Linked DNA regions of Homo sapiens: all the other regions are linked to region 1. Evidence: promoter capture Hi-C in 16 types of primary human blood cells and fetal thymus (Javierre and others, 2016). All regions are on one chromosome and are shown on one strand. The core of a region is centred on a gene start or on the middle of the fragment in contact, and the rest is flanking DNA. Distances in the headings are between cores, read along the strand shown. Region 1 holds the start of TMEM167B (transmembrane protein 167B). Region 2 has its middle 2.4 kb from the start of GPR61. Region 3 overlaps PRPF38B (pre-mRNA processing factor 38B). Region 4 overlaps PSMA5 (proteasome 20S subunit alpha 5).

Evidence for each region. Contacts are between HindIII fragments. The CHiCAGO score rates a contact against its expected background, and 5 or more counts as called.
Region 2: a fragment that was not itself captured here is called in contact with the fragment with the promoter of TMEM167B in region 1 in 1 of 17 cell types (endothelial precursors); the score reaches 5.5 in endothelial precursors.
Region 3: a contact is called between a fragment that was not itself captured here and the fragment with the promoter of TMEM167B in region 1, in 2 of 17 cell types (naive CD8 T cells and non-activated CD4 T cells). The highest score is 6.1, in naive CD8 T cells.
Region 4: a fragment that was not itself captured here is called in contact with the fragment with the promoter of TMEM167B in region 1 in 2 of 17 cell types (endothelial precursors and megakaryocytes); the score reaches 6.2 in endothelial precursors.

Annotation. Positions count from the first base shown.
Region 1 is chr1:109,089,410-109,092,074 of GRCh38, reverse strand. TMEM167B (transmembrane protein 167B) reads right to left here and starts at 1,311. Exons shown (of 3, transcript NM_020141.4): 1 at 1,193-1,311. The coding sequence starts at 1,202. RefSeq lists an enhancer at 1,478-1,677. The HindIII fragment of the contact is 3,338 bases long and covers 737-2,665 here.
Region 2 is chr1:109,536,095-109,538,759 of GRCh38, reverse strand. No RefSeq gene overlaps it. Among named protein-coding and RNA genes, the nearest start is that of GPR61, 2.4 kb to the left of the region's middle. The HindIII fragment of the contact is 720 bases long and covers 951-1,670 here.
Region 3 is chr1:108,698,631-108,701,295 of GRCh38, reverse strand. PRPF38B (pre-mRNA processing factor 38B) reads right to left here. Exons shown (of 6, transcript NM_018061.4): 5 at 2,469-2,665; 6 at 1-2,134. The coding sequence ends at 1,276. Among named protein-coding and RNA genes, the nearest start is that of PRPF38B, 7.7 kb to the right of the region's middle. The HindIII fragment of the contact is 1,854 bases long and covers 384-2,237 here.
Region 4 is chr1:109,400,603-109,403,267 of GRCh38, reverse strand. It overlaps PSMA5 (proteasome 20S subunit alpha 5), which reads left to right. Exons shown (of 9, transcript NM_002790.4): 9 at 1,178-2,665. The coding sequence ends at 1,255. Among named protein-coding and RNA genes, the nearest start is that of SORT1, 4.0 kb to the right of the region's middle. The HindIII fragment of the contact is 3,839 bases long and covers 1-2,665 here.

The sequences.
Region 1 (2,665 bases), core at 62-2,561:
TTGCAAAAAACAAGAAGATATTGGACCACAAAATGGGGGAAGAATGACTAAAATTTATTCAGCAACTACCGTGTCAAACTGCTGTCTTACTTCCTGGTTCAGATTCTGTCTTCCTCTGGGTAAATTCCCTTTTCTTACTGTGCCTAGTATCCTGAGACCTCTGACTTCCCAGGAAGCTCCAAATGAATATTATATATAACCAGTGTCTGCCAGTTCTAGATCACACTACCTCTCTTCCTCCAGTAAAACTGTCTCACAGCTAAGCTGTCACTAAGAAAGGGTCCAGCAAATTAATACATACACTAAGGTTTTCTGAGGAACTATACCTTCACGTGCTACCCCTTTTCTCTCATAAGTTTCTGCAGACAATGCCAAAATTCACAAGGAGGTTAAATTCGAGTCTTCAGTGCCAGGTCTATGGACAAAGTACTTTTGAGAAATGCTTTCCGGAGCCCCTCAAATCATCGTAATGCCTAAAAGGCTTTCTCTTCTCCTTTCCTGTAAGGTTGACACTAAAAATCATGAAGGCCCTCCTTCCTGTCCTCCTCTGGAATTCAGAATTCATAAAGTGTTTGAAGAGGCCTGGAAAATTAGGTCAGATAAACTGCCTCATCATCTAGAAGAGGCAGTGTCTAAATCCACCCTTTGCAACACTAGTCAGGGTCTCCACGTGGGATCACCCCGCCAGGACTTTAAAATCAGAAATCTTTCCGGTATTTTTCCGTAAGAAGAAGCTTTTGTGGGGTCTACATTCACCAGCAACCCCAAAAGTGTGGGACTTGATATTCTATGTCATTTATTGGCCCTCTCAACAAAACTACGGTCCGAAAGCATGAGAACGCAGGGAGCTGGGAGGAGGAGCCTCTCTCTTCCCCGGGTTTAAATAGCAGTAGTACCTCTGGGACTGACCTCTCCAAGGGCCAGAAAGAACTAAGAAAAAGAAAAGGGAAAGCAAAGCATAGGGATAGATAACTCGAGGTGTGAGCATAAGAGGCACTGGGGGTCCTAGATGAATATGGGAAGGGGGAACCCGTAGAGGAGTATAGGGGTACAGAAGTTAGGGGCGTCGAGAGGCCAAGGGGGGCCGGGCTGGGAGGGGGCGGGGAGAACGGCCACGTCAGTCCCGGCCCCGCCCGCCACGTTTTCCCTTCGTCCTTCACTCCCACCCTCCGCTCAGGGCATCAGTTCTCACCGTTCGTCATGGCGGCTGGCCCTGGACCTGGGTAGGGGGTCCGGGTTCAGTGGTAATAGCGGCGGAGATGGGGGAGCGCCCGCTTGACACTTCCCGATCCGGGCCGAGGTGACTGGAAGAAGCCGTAGTACGCAGGAGCAAGGGCCGAGAGGCGAGCGCCGAACGCTATCAGGAGTGGCTAGCCGATTGTCGAGCTCGGGAAACTGCGTGTTTACGTAGGGTAAGAAGAACGCTATCTCGAAGGCTTCGTACTTGGCCGTGGTAACTAAGTCTTTTCTGCGTGCCCCTGCGGGCGTAGGGCTGGGGCTGGCCCGCGTCAGTGTGTTTGAAAAGGTAAAGGCTTGTAGTTTTGTAGTTTATTTTGCGCCGTGGCGGCTGCTGTGTGTAAGCAGCAGCCTACCTATGAGGTTTTCATCGTCCTGGGCTTCCACTTGAGAGAACTCCAGCACCGCGGGTGAAGAAGCCGCACCTGCGGCCTCCGTGACTGCCCTTGAGCTGCTCTTCCTTACTCCGGATGGAAATCTAGTCAGACTGCGTCTGAACGTTGCAAATGAAATGAGGAACCTTGTAACAAAAACAAGTCGCGGCCGGGCGCGGTGGTTCACGCCTGTAATCCCAGCACTTTGGGAGGCCGAGCCAGGCGGATCACCTGAGGTCGGAGTTCGAGACCAGCCTGACCAACAAGGAGAAACCCCGTCTCTACTAAACATACAAAATTAGCCGGGCGCGGTGGCTCATGCCTGTAATCTAAGCACTTTAGGAGGCCGAGGCAGGCGGATCACCTGAGATCGTAGTTCGAGACCAGCCTGACCAACATGGAGAAACCCCGTCTCTACTACAAATACAAAATTAGCCGGGCATGGTGGCTCATGCCTGTAATGTAATCCCAGCTACTCGGGAGGCCGAGGCAGGAGAATCGCTTGAACCTGGGAGGCGGAGGTTGCGGTGAGCCGAGATCGCGCCATTGCACTCCAGCCTGGGCAACAAGAGCGGAAACTCCGTCTCAAAAACAACAACAACAACAACAACAACAACAAAAACCAAGTCGCATCTTTCAGATCCTAAAGCACCACGTCGTCGGAAAACATTCAAAGGGTTGCCCGTTTGCTTGTGTGAATTTTTCTTTTCCTTAAACTATCAGGAGAATCTCGATTCTCCTGCATTTAATTAATGCTGGGATCACTTCAGCCACTTTAACCAGAAATCGGCGATATCTAGACACCGCTTCTCTGAGGACACTTTGACAACGTGACAAAAGACATTGCCAGTCTAATGATGGGGGTGGGGTGGAGGAGACAAAAGTACAGATTCAGATTTGCATACTGAAATCCTTAATTGCACACAACTCGGCCCGCTTTATTAGAGTTCGGGCGGAAGTGCGACACCGAGTCCTCCAAGGCTAACTGGAGGGTTAAATTATACGGTTACTAATCCGCCGTGCTTGTCAAGGGCCTAAAGGGACTCTGCCCCTTT
Region 2 (2,665 bases), core at 61-2,560, 450 kb before region 1:
AGAGCCTGCTTCCCTGAGACTTGCCTATCTAGGGACTCCTTCTGCCTCTAAGAAGGAAAAAGGGAATTCTGGAATTGTTTACCAGACCCAACCCAAAGAGCCATAAGAACAATGAGTTACCCAAGGACCTCACTGGGACAAGTTGGCTGCCCCAAGCCCCAGGTCAAAAACAAAGAGGCCACTGACAAACCAAGAGCCGATGCAGCAAGTGCCGCTGTCACCAGCCACCACTTTTTGAGCTGTTATGAGTGCCAGGCCCTTTACATACAGTTTCTTTGATCCCCACACCAATCTATGAGGCAGCCATGACTTGCCCTATTTTATAAGTGAGGAACCGGGTGCTGGAGGAGAAGTGACTTTCCCCAAATCACACAGCTAATAAGTGCAAGAGCTGATATTTGAACCCAGATCTGTTTGAAGTCCAAGTATTTCCTCCTCCTTCTCCCTTCGTTCCGTGGCCTCTCCAGTGGCCTGACACAAGACTGTGGACTACAGCCCTAAAAGCTATCTTCATAGAAGTAGTCACTGCCTTCCAGAAAGCCTAAAACAGACCTCAAAATTAGGCATACCTGCGTACAAGAAATTCAAATGGAAATACCAAATTGAAAACCTGTAGACAGCAAAGTGATTTTTAGGAAGCCCTGTGCTGTTGTGTTGGCAAGATTAATTTGGCATCAAGCAGATTGTCTGGGATTAGGTAAAGCCTGTCCCTGCTCAGCACCCACATTCTTCCTGCAGGGCCCCAGCCCAGACTGGCATGGCCCCTTCCGAGGGATTCAATAAGAACTGGAGCAGACCTGGGCCCACTGGAACAGGATTTTAGAAAGAGCGCTAGACTGGAGTCAGAAAACCTTGGTTCCAGTTTGGCGCCATTCTATTGGTTGGTGGTAAGACCTTGGCCTGTGAGTTGGCTGTCTGTGAAAATGGGCAAAATTCTTCACTTCCAAGCTTATCTAATAGTGGTAGGGAGCCTGCAAAACAAACATAGCCTGCCTCTCCAGCTTCAGGGAGCTAGCACAGGTAATCACAGCTCATGTGGTGGCCAGCAGGCAAGGCGTCCGTGTCCTGAAGCCCCTCCCAGAGAGCTATTGGGAAAGGCAGTACCAAAGAGGCAGCATGTTCCAGCTGTTGGAACCATCTTGGCTCAGGAGGTCGGCGGGGGAACTGCTTATTCTAGCCTGTGGGCAAATAATAAATAATAATAATAATCATGCTGGCTGGGCACAGTGGCTCACGCCTGTAATTCCAGCACTTTGGGAGGCTGAGGCGGGCAGATGATTTGAGATCAGGAGTTCAAGACCAGCCTGGCCAACATGGCGAAACCCCGTCTCTACTAAAAATACAAAAATTAGCTAGGCATGGTGACACATGCCTGTAATCCCAGCTACTCAGGAGGCTGAGGCAGGAGAATCGCTTGAACCCAGGAGGTGGAGGTTGCAGTGATCTGAGATCGCACCATTGCACTCCAGCCTGGGCAATAAGAGTGAGACTCTGTCTCAAAAAATAATAATAATAAATAATAATAATAATAATGCTACTAGTTCTTGAAGGCCCACTTTGGGAGGCACTTCTTATGCTGTATCTTATTAAATGATCTCAGTCAGGGTGTGGAGTAGCTACTGACAGCACACCCCCAACCCCACCTGCCAGTCCCTCCTTTTAGTAAAGCTTAGCACAATGGAGGGGGCAAGAAGACCAAGATGGAGAAACTGAGTGTGATCCCCCAAACCACATAAGAGATCCATGGCTCACTATGCTGTGCACACACCCAGGAAGGGAATCCTGTTACAGGACGGGGACCAGGCCCTGTTTCCAACAGTGGCACCCCTTCCCTTGGTATCATGGCAGGGCCCTTGCTGCTGAGGACTGATCTTTGCATCCTAGACTTGCTCCCTGGTACAGTTTTACCCAACCCTTGTGCACCAGCACCTCGTGACAGGGTCGTGTCTGCCCATCCACCCTTTTCTGCCCCAGGATGAGACCTGGAAGCCAATCAAGTTTATCTTTCATTCATCCATCCACTTCTTCAATAAACATTGAAGACTTCTTATGTTGCCACTGCCCCCTCCCTAGAGCCCCTTGCCTGCTCAGTGGCACCCACTACCCTCCTTCTCTGCCTTGTGTCAGAATCTGCTCTCAGGAAAGAGGTTGATAAACCCATTTGCACTGATAGCAACTTAATGTGTTCTTTCCCAGGAATATTAACAATTTAACAGGGAACAAAGAGAAGAAGCAGAACGTTGGGATTCCAGCATCGACCAGGGATGTCCCTGAGATCCCACAACATAGACTGCCTGTCAGCCGCCTACTCCCTAGCCAGGCCTCCCCCGCCAAGCTGCTGGCATTGTGTCCTCTTGGCATCCACCTCCATCCGCATGGGCACCCAACCCCCCCGCCCCTGCCAACCAGACAGCAGGCTTACAGCTGGGACCTCCACACCACAGCTCAGTTCCTGGCTTCCTGGGGCCCCCCTGTACCAGCACCAGCCATGCCTGCTTTCCAAGCACTCACCTCACCCTGCCCAGCATCTGGGAGCCAGGCCAAGGGGCTGAGGAGGGAGGCAGAGGAAAGCAGAGGTGAGAGCCCTTCCATTCTCTTTATTCCCCCACTGTCTGGCCTACACCCCCTGCCAGGAGCTGAGATCCAATGGTATATTCAGCCTGCA
Region 3 (2,665 bases), core at 61-2,560, 390 kb after region 1:
ACTAAGACATCCCTGTACACAAAGTGTGACTCTACTGACGTTTCATCAATTTCCACAATATAAATATGCTAAAAAAATTTAACAAATGGGGGAAAAGCCAAGACCCAGGATAAAGGATTTAATCCAGTATTTATTCCACACTCATGATGGTTCTGTAATCAGAATACAAGTTGTAAGAACAATCTATCAAATAATTTGCTGATAGTCTTAAATAATGCAGCACAGCATTACTTTTAATACTCCTCTGTTCTAGATTAAGTTTAAAAACTCAAACAGCAATCTCCATTATCAATAAAAAAAGTTCTGAATTTTAAAAAAAGGACACTATATCAAGCTGTTTCATAATTTAAGGATTTTCCATTTATAAAAATGCTTTGGAAGCTTGAGGCTTGAATCTGTTTCTCTACTCATCTGCCCCACCCTCTCCCCATTACATGTTAGTATAGGGTTCTGCAAGAATGCTAGGCTTTAGACATTAATTTTTTTCTTTAATATAGTACTTTAAAATCTGAGAAAGAATTCAAGAAAAAAAGATTACATGTCATGTATTTTTTCAAATAAAAAAGGAAAACTAAGTGAATAAATTTTAGGCATACTAAGTGTCCCTTTGAGGTAGAATGCTAAAAGGACTTTTGATGAAATCACAGCCTAAAAACCTCTGCATCAGAAACTAACTTCTCATAAATTCTCTCTAAAGGTAACTGTGGAGAATATTAAGTGTAACATATTAACAAGAGCCTTCCAAGATAATATACAGTAGACAAGAATGTTAATCCTACAATGCTGCCTTCTTGTACATTGGCAGCACATACTTCTCCTATAATAGACATCCAAGATCCATTCTCAAAGTCTTTAGCATTCTATTACGAAAAGCACAGCCATGCTAACTTCAGTACACAAACCATAATCCCACACCTACAAAACAAAAATAGATTAGTGGCAGTTTATTGCCTTATACAAATTTAACCAACATGGCAACCATGCCAAAGGAATTAAAACATTTTCAGGACATATGTACAGACTGTACATTTCAAAAACAAACAATAAAAATGCAAGAACAATCTGTGCATCATGTATCAAACTTAACAATTGGGTGAAAACACCAATGCAATAAATGGAATTACAAAGGCACTTCCCTACACGAAAGAGGAAATGAAAATGCAGCCTACAGGGAGAGCTTGAGGAGTGCGAACTACTGCACAATCTCAACGTGGGGGAAAAAAGCAGATTTAATCATTTATAGGATTCAATGTGATCCACTTTTACAAAATATTTTCACACAGTCTCATCTTTGTTTTTATGCTGTTTTTCTTGGCTCTCTTGTTCTATACTTTGGCTCCTTCGACGATCATGTTTGTCTGACTGGTCCTTACTATCACTGTGATCTCGTTTGTGGGAACGTTCTTTGCTTCTACTACGCTTTCTAGATTTTTCTTTGCTGGGACTATGTTCCCGTTTTTTTGATTTTTCAACACTGTCAGTTCTTCCTTGACTGCCACTTCGACTTCGTTTATTTGATTTTTCTTTACTTTCATTTTTATGTTTACTTGATTTCTCTTTGCTTCTACTTCTACTTCGTTTCCCTGCATTTCTACTTCGACTCCTACTTCTGTGTTTCCTTTCTCTGCTTCTGCTTCTACTGTGTTTTTTCTCTTTCTTGGAATCTCTTTTGTCATCTCTGTGCCGCCTATCATCTTTGTCTTCTTTATGTTTCTTCTCTTCTACCTCTCCCCTACTTCTCTGTTCCTTGGACCTTTCTCTTGATCGCTCTCTCTCTTTTTCTCGTTCATTTCCTCTTTCCTTATCATAGTCACGATCTCGTCTTCTACCTCTCTCATTTTCTTTCTCTCTTTCTCGATCCCTGTCCCTTCTATCCCCTTTCCTATCACGACTTCGACTGCGACTTCTATGCCTTTCCCTACTTCTGCTGCGCCTGCGTTCTAACCCCCGGTCAATACTTCGGGATCTTCGCCGTTCTTTCTCCCTTTCTTTGGCTTCACGCTCTAGTCGCTGGCGTTCTTTCTCTCTTTCTAATTCTCTGTCAAAACTAGAAGACCCATGGCCCTCCCGATGATGACTTCTACTTCTTGACCTTCTTGGGGACCTCCGTGGACTCAGAGATCTCCTTGGAGACCTAAGGAAGGCGGAGGGAGAAAGAAAATTTCAATGAATAAAACATATGCAATTCTTTTCACAGTAAAACTTTCAACAGCATTATTTATTCATGTCCTCAAGCTTAAGGCCATGTCAAGAATCATTAAAGCAAAAAATTTTATTGTTCTCATTTACAGATGCATAATTTTATAGAAAAAGCCCTGAAAGGAAGAAAATAATCTTTGGGGGGTAAAAGTGACAAACTAATAAAATGAACAGTAAAAACAAATTCCTAAGAACTTGCTATTTCTCAGAACCATTAATTTTGTATAAAGCATATATGAAAAATAAGCATAATTCAAGAGTGACATTACCTTGAACGTCTGCGTTCAACATGTCTGTCTATTTCCTCAGCACCTTCCTTCCCATCTTTCTTGATTTTTCTAGGTCGGGTTTTAATCTGTTGATCAATATTCTTTTGAACTGGAACTGGAATTCTTGGAAACAAGGTAGAAAACCACTCCAGTTTTGTGAGAAAAGATCGTAGCATTTCTCCAATGGTCATTACACA
Region 4 (2,665 bases), core at 71-2,570, 310 kb before region 1:
CAAATGTGAAGTGGCACCTATTGCTCAGTATTGCCCAAAACTGTGGGACATGATCAACAGAGAGAATGGAAAACCTAGTCATGATAGTTAAATTTGAAATTAACCATCTTCTGACCCTAGTTTTTTATTGTTGTTGTTGCTTTTAAATGTAAATATAATCTGGATTTCCAGTTATTACTGATATCTTCAGCAGTCACAACTGGTTTCCTATGCCAGTGTTAATGAAATCTTTTCTTGGCCAGTTCTTTTAAAAAAACGTAACAGGCCAGGTGCAGTAGCTCACATCTGTAATCCTAGCACTTTGGGAAGCTGAGGTGGGCAGATCACCTGAGGTTGGGAGTTCGAGACCAGCCTGACCAACATGGAGAATCGCCGTCTCTACTAAAAATACAAAATTAGCCGGGTGTGGTGGCGCATGTCTGTAATCCCAGCTACTCGAGAGGCTGAGGCAGGAGAATCGCTTGAACCCGGGAGGCGGAGGTTGCGGTGAGCCTAGATCACGCCATTGCACTCCAGCCTGAACAACAAGAGCGAAACTCCATCTCAAAACAAAACCAAAAACAAACAAAAAAAACTTTTTTGTTAAGTTTTGCCACATAAACAATTTTAGAGAAAATACCTGACAATAGTTAATGATTATTTGTTGTAGGCAATAATGGTCTAAGCACTTTATATATATTAACATTTAATCCTCACAACTACTCTATGAATTAGCTATTCTTATTGTCCTCATTGTACAGATGAAGAAATAGAGGCACAGAGTGGCCAAGTAACCTCAAGTCACACACACAAGCTCAACTTTTAAGTATTTAAATATACTTCAAATATATTTCTAAAGGAGTCTTTAACAGAAAAAAGTACTGACTCCATGTACTTTGCTGCTGCTTTTGTGATCCCTGTTGAAGTGACTTCAAGAAGTGACAATGATGCCAGGCATTTGGTTAAGTATGATGTGGTGAGTTAACCTTAAAATAGAAAATTTGGTCAATAAGCATTTTTATTTTGGAGCCAGAGAGCTATTTTAGGGACCTGCTGCCTGGAAAGGATATCCTTGGGACAGCAGATCCCTTAGTTCCTAATGAATAGCTGCATCACCAACACAGCTTCTCCTGACCATGGTAGGGCCATCAGCAGGGTAACTCAGCCCAGCTTATTAACCCTTCTGTTTTCTTTCCAGCTAGCCACAGTGCAGCCTGGCCAGAATTTCCACATGTTCACAAAGGAAGAACTTGAAGAGGTTATCAAGGACATTTAAGGAATCCTGATCCTCAGAACTTCTCTGGGACAATTTCAGTTCTAATAATGTCCTTAAATTTTATTTCCAGCTCCTGTTCCTTGGAAAATCTCCATTGTATGTGCATTTTTTAAATGATGTCTGTACATAAAGGCAGTTCTGAAATAAAGAAAATTTTAAAATATTTGTTAATAGACTGTTCTCTTCTAATAGTCTTTTTTTTTTTTTTTTTTTTAAGAGATGAGGTCTCACTATATTGCCCAGGCTGGTTTCAAACTCCTGGGTTCAAGTGATCTTCCCGCCTCTGCCTCCTGAAGTGCTAGGATTATAGGCGAGAGCCACTGTGCCCAGCCATTGTAATACAGTCTTTTGTTTGAAATGCAAATGTTAGTGGGCCAAAAGGACAGTGTTATTAATATCCCTATTCTATGAAGATGTCTGTTCTAAAACTGTTTTAGTGATGCTCTATAACAGAATCAACTATATCCATTAATCCCATGGTGTTGATAAATGAACTAGTCCAGCTCTTCCCAGTGGTTAATAGATGTTAACAGCACTGTAAATCCATTTCGGCCCTATAATTTCTGGAGCAAACGTGTATTTTTGCTGCTTTTCTTATAAGGAGATGCTACTAATTGACTATCAGAAGAACATGTTTTGAGGTCCTCCTCAAAACATTGATGGGTTGGAATCAGCCATCAACAGTGTTGTACCAGTTCTTGGGTCTTGATAGACAATTTGGAAAGAGATTTCCTTGTTTACGAAGTGAAGGACTAAGAATTAAATTAATGACCTTGGCCTCACTGGCAATCAATTACAAATCTCTATATCAGTAAGAGAATTGTAAAATTCAGAAGCAGTTTACATTAGACTTTGGAATGAATGATGAACTTTCCCCATTAGAGCTGCCATCATATGATTGGTGGAGATTGTTTAAAGAATCATTCTATCTCAGCCTCAAAAATTACCACGGGAAGATGGTATCAGTATCACTACTTAACAGATGAAGAATCTAATGCTGTGTGCCCATGGACACACAAAATTAAGCTGTTGGGACTTGAACAGCTCAAATTTTCTTGTTTCAGATCACCAGCTCTTGAGTAATAGGGAAATCTGGAGATTTGAAAAGTACTTGCACTGTCCACAACATGGCTAATCCATATGTGGATGATGCAGAATTGATTTAATTCACTAACAGGGACCCCATAATTATTTGCTGGGCTCTGGGTATATTGATGTGTAGGAAGTTGTACTATATGTTAATAAATTATGACTATTTGGATAGGCTGAATTCATACTAAATCCATACTGTAGTTCAACAAAAAACAACATGTTTATATACATTTGGAAACTGCAATGATAGGAAACATTTGGAAGAAAGGGATTTTGCCCTAGAATAACACATAAGGAAAGCAGAGAATTAGAGTATAT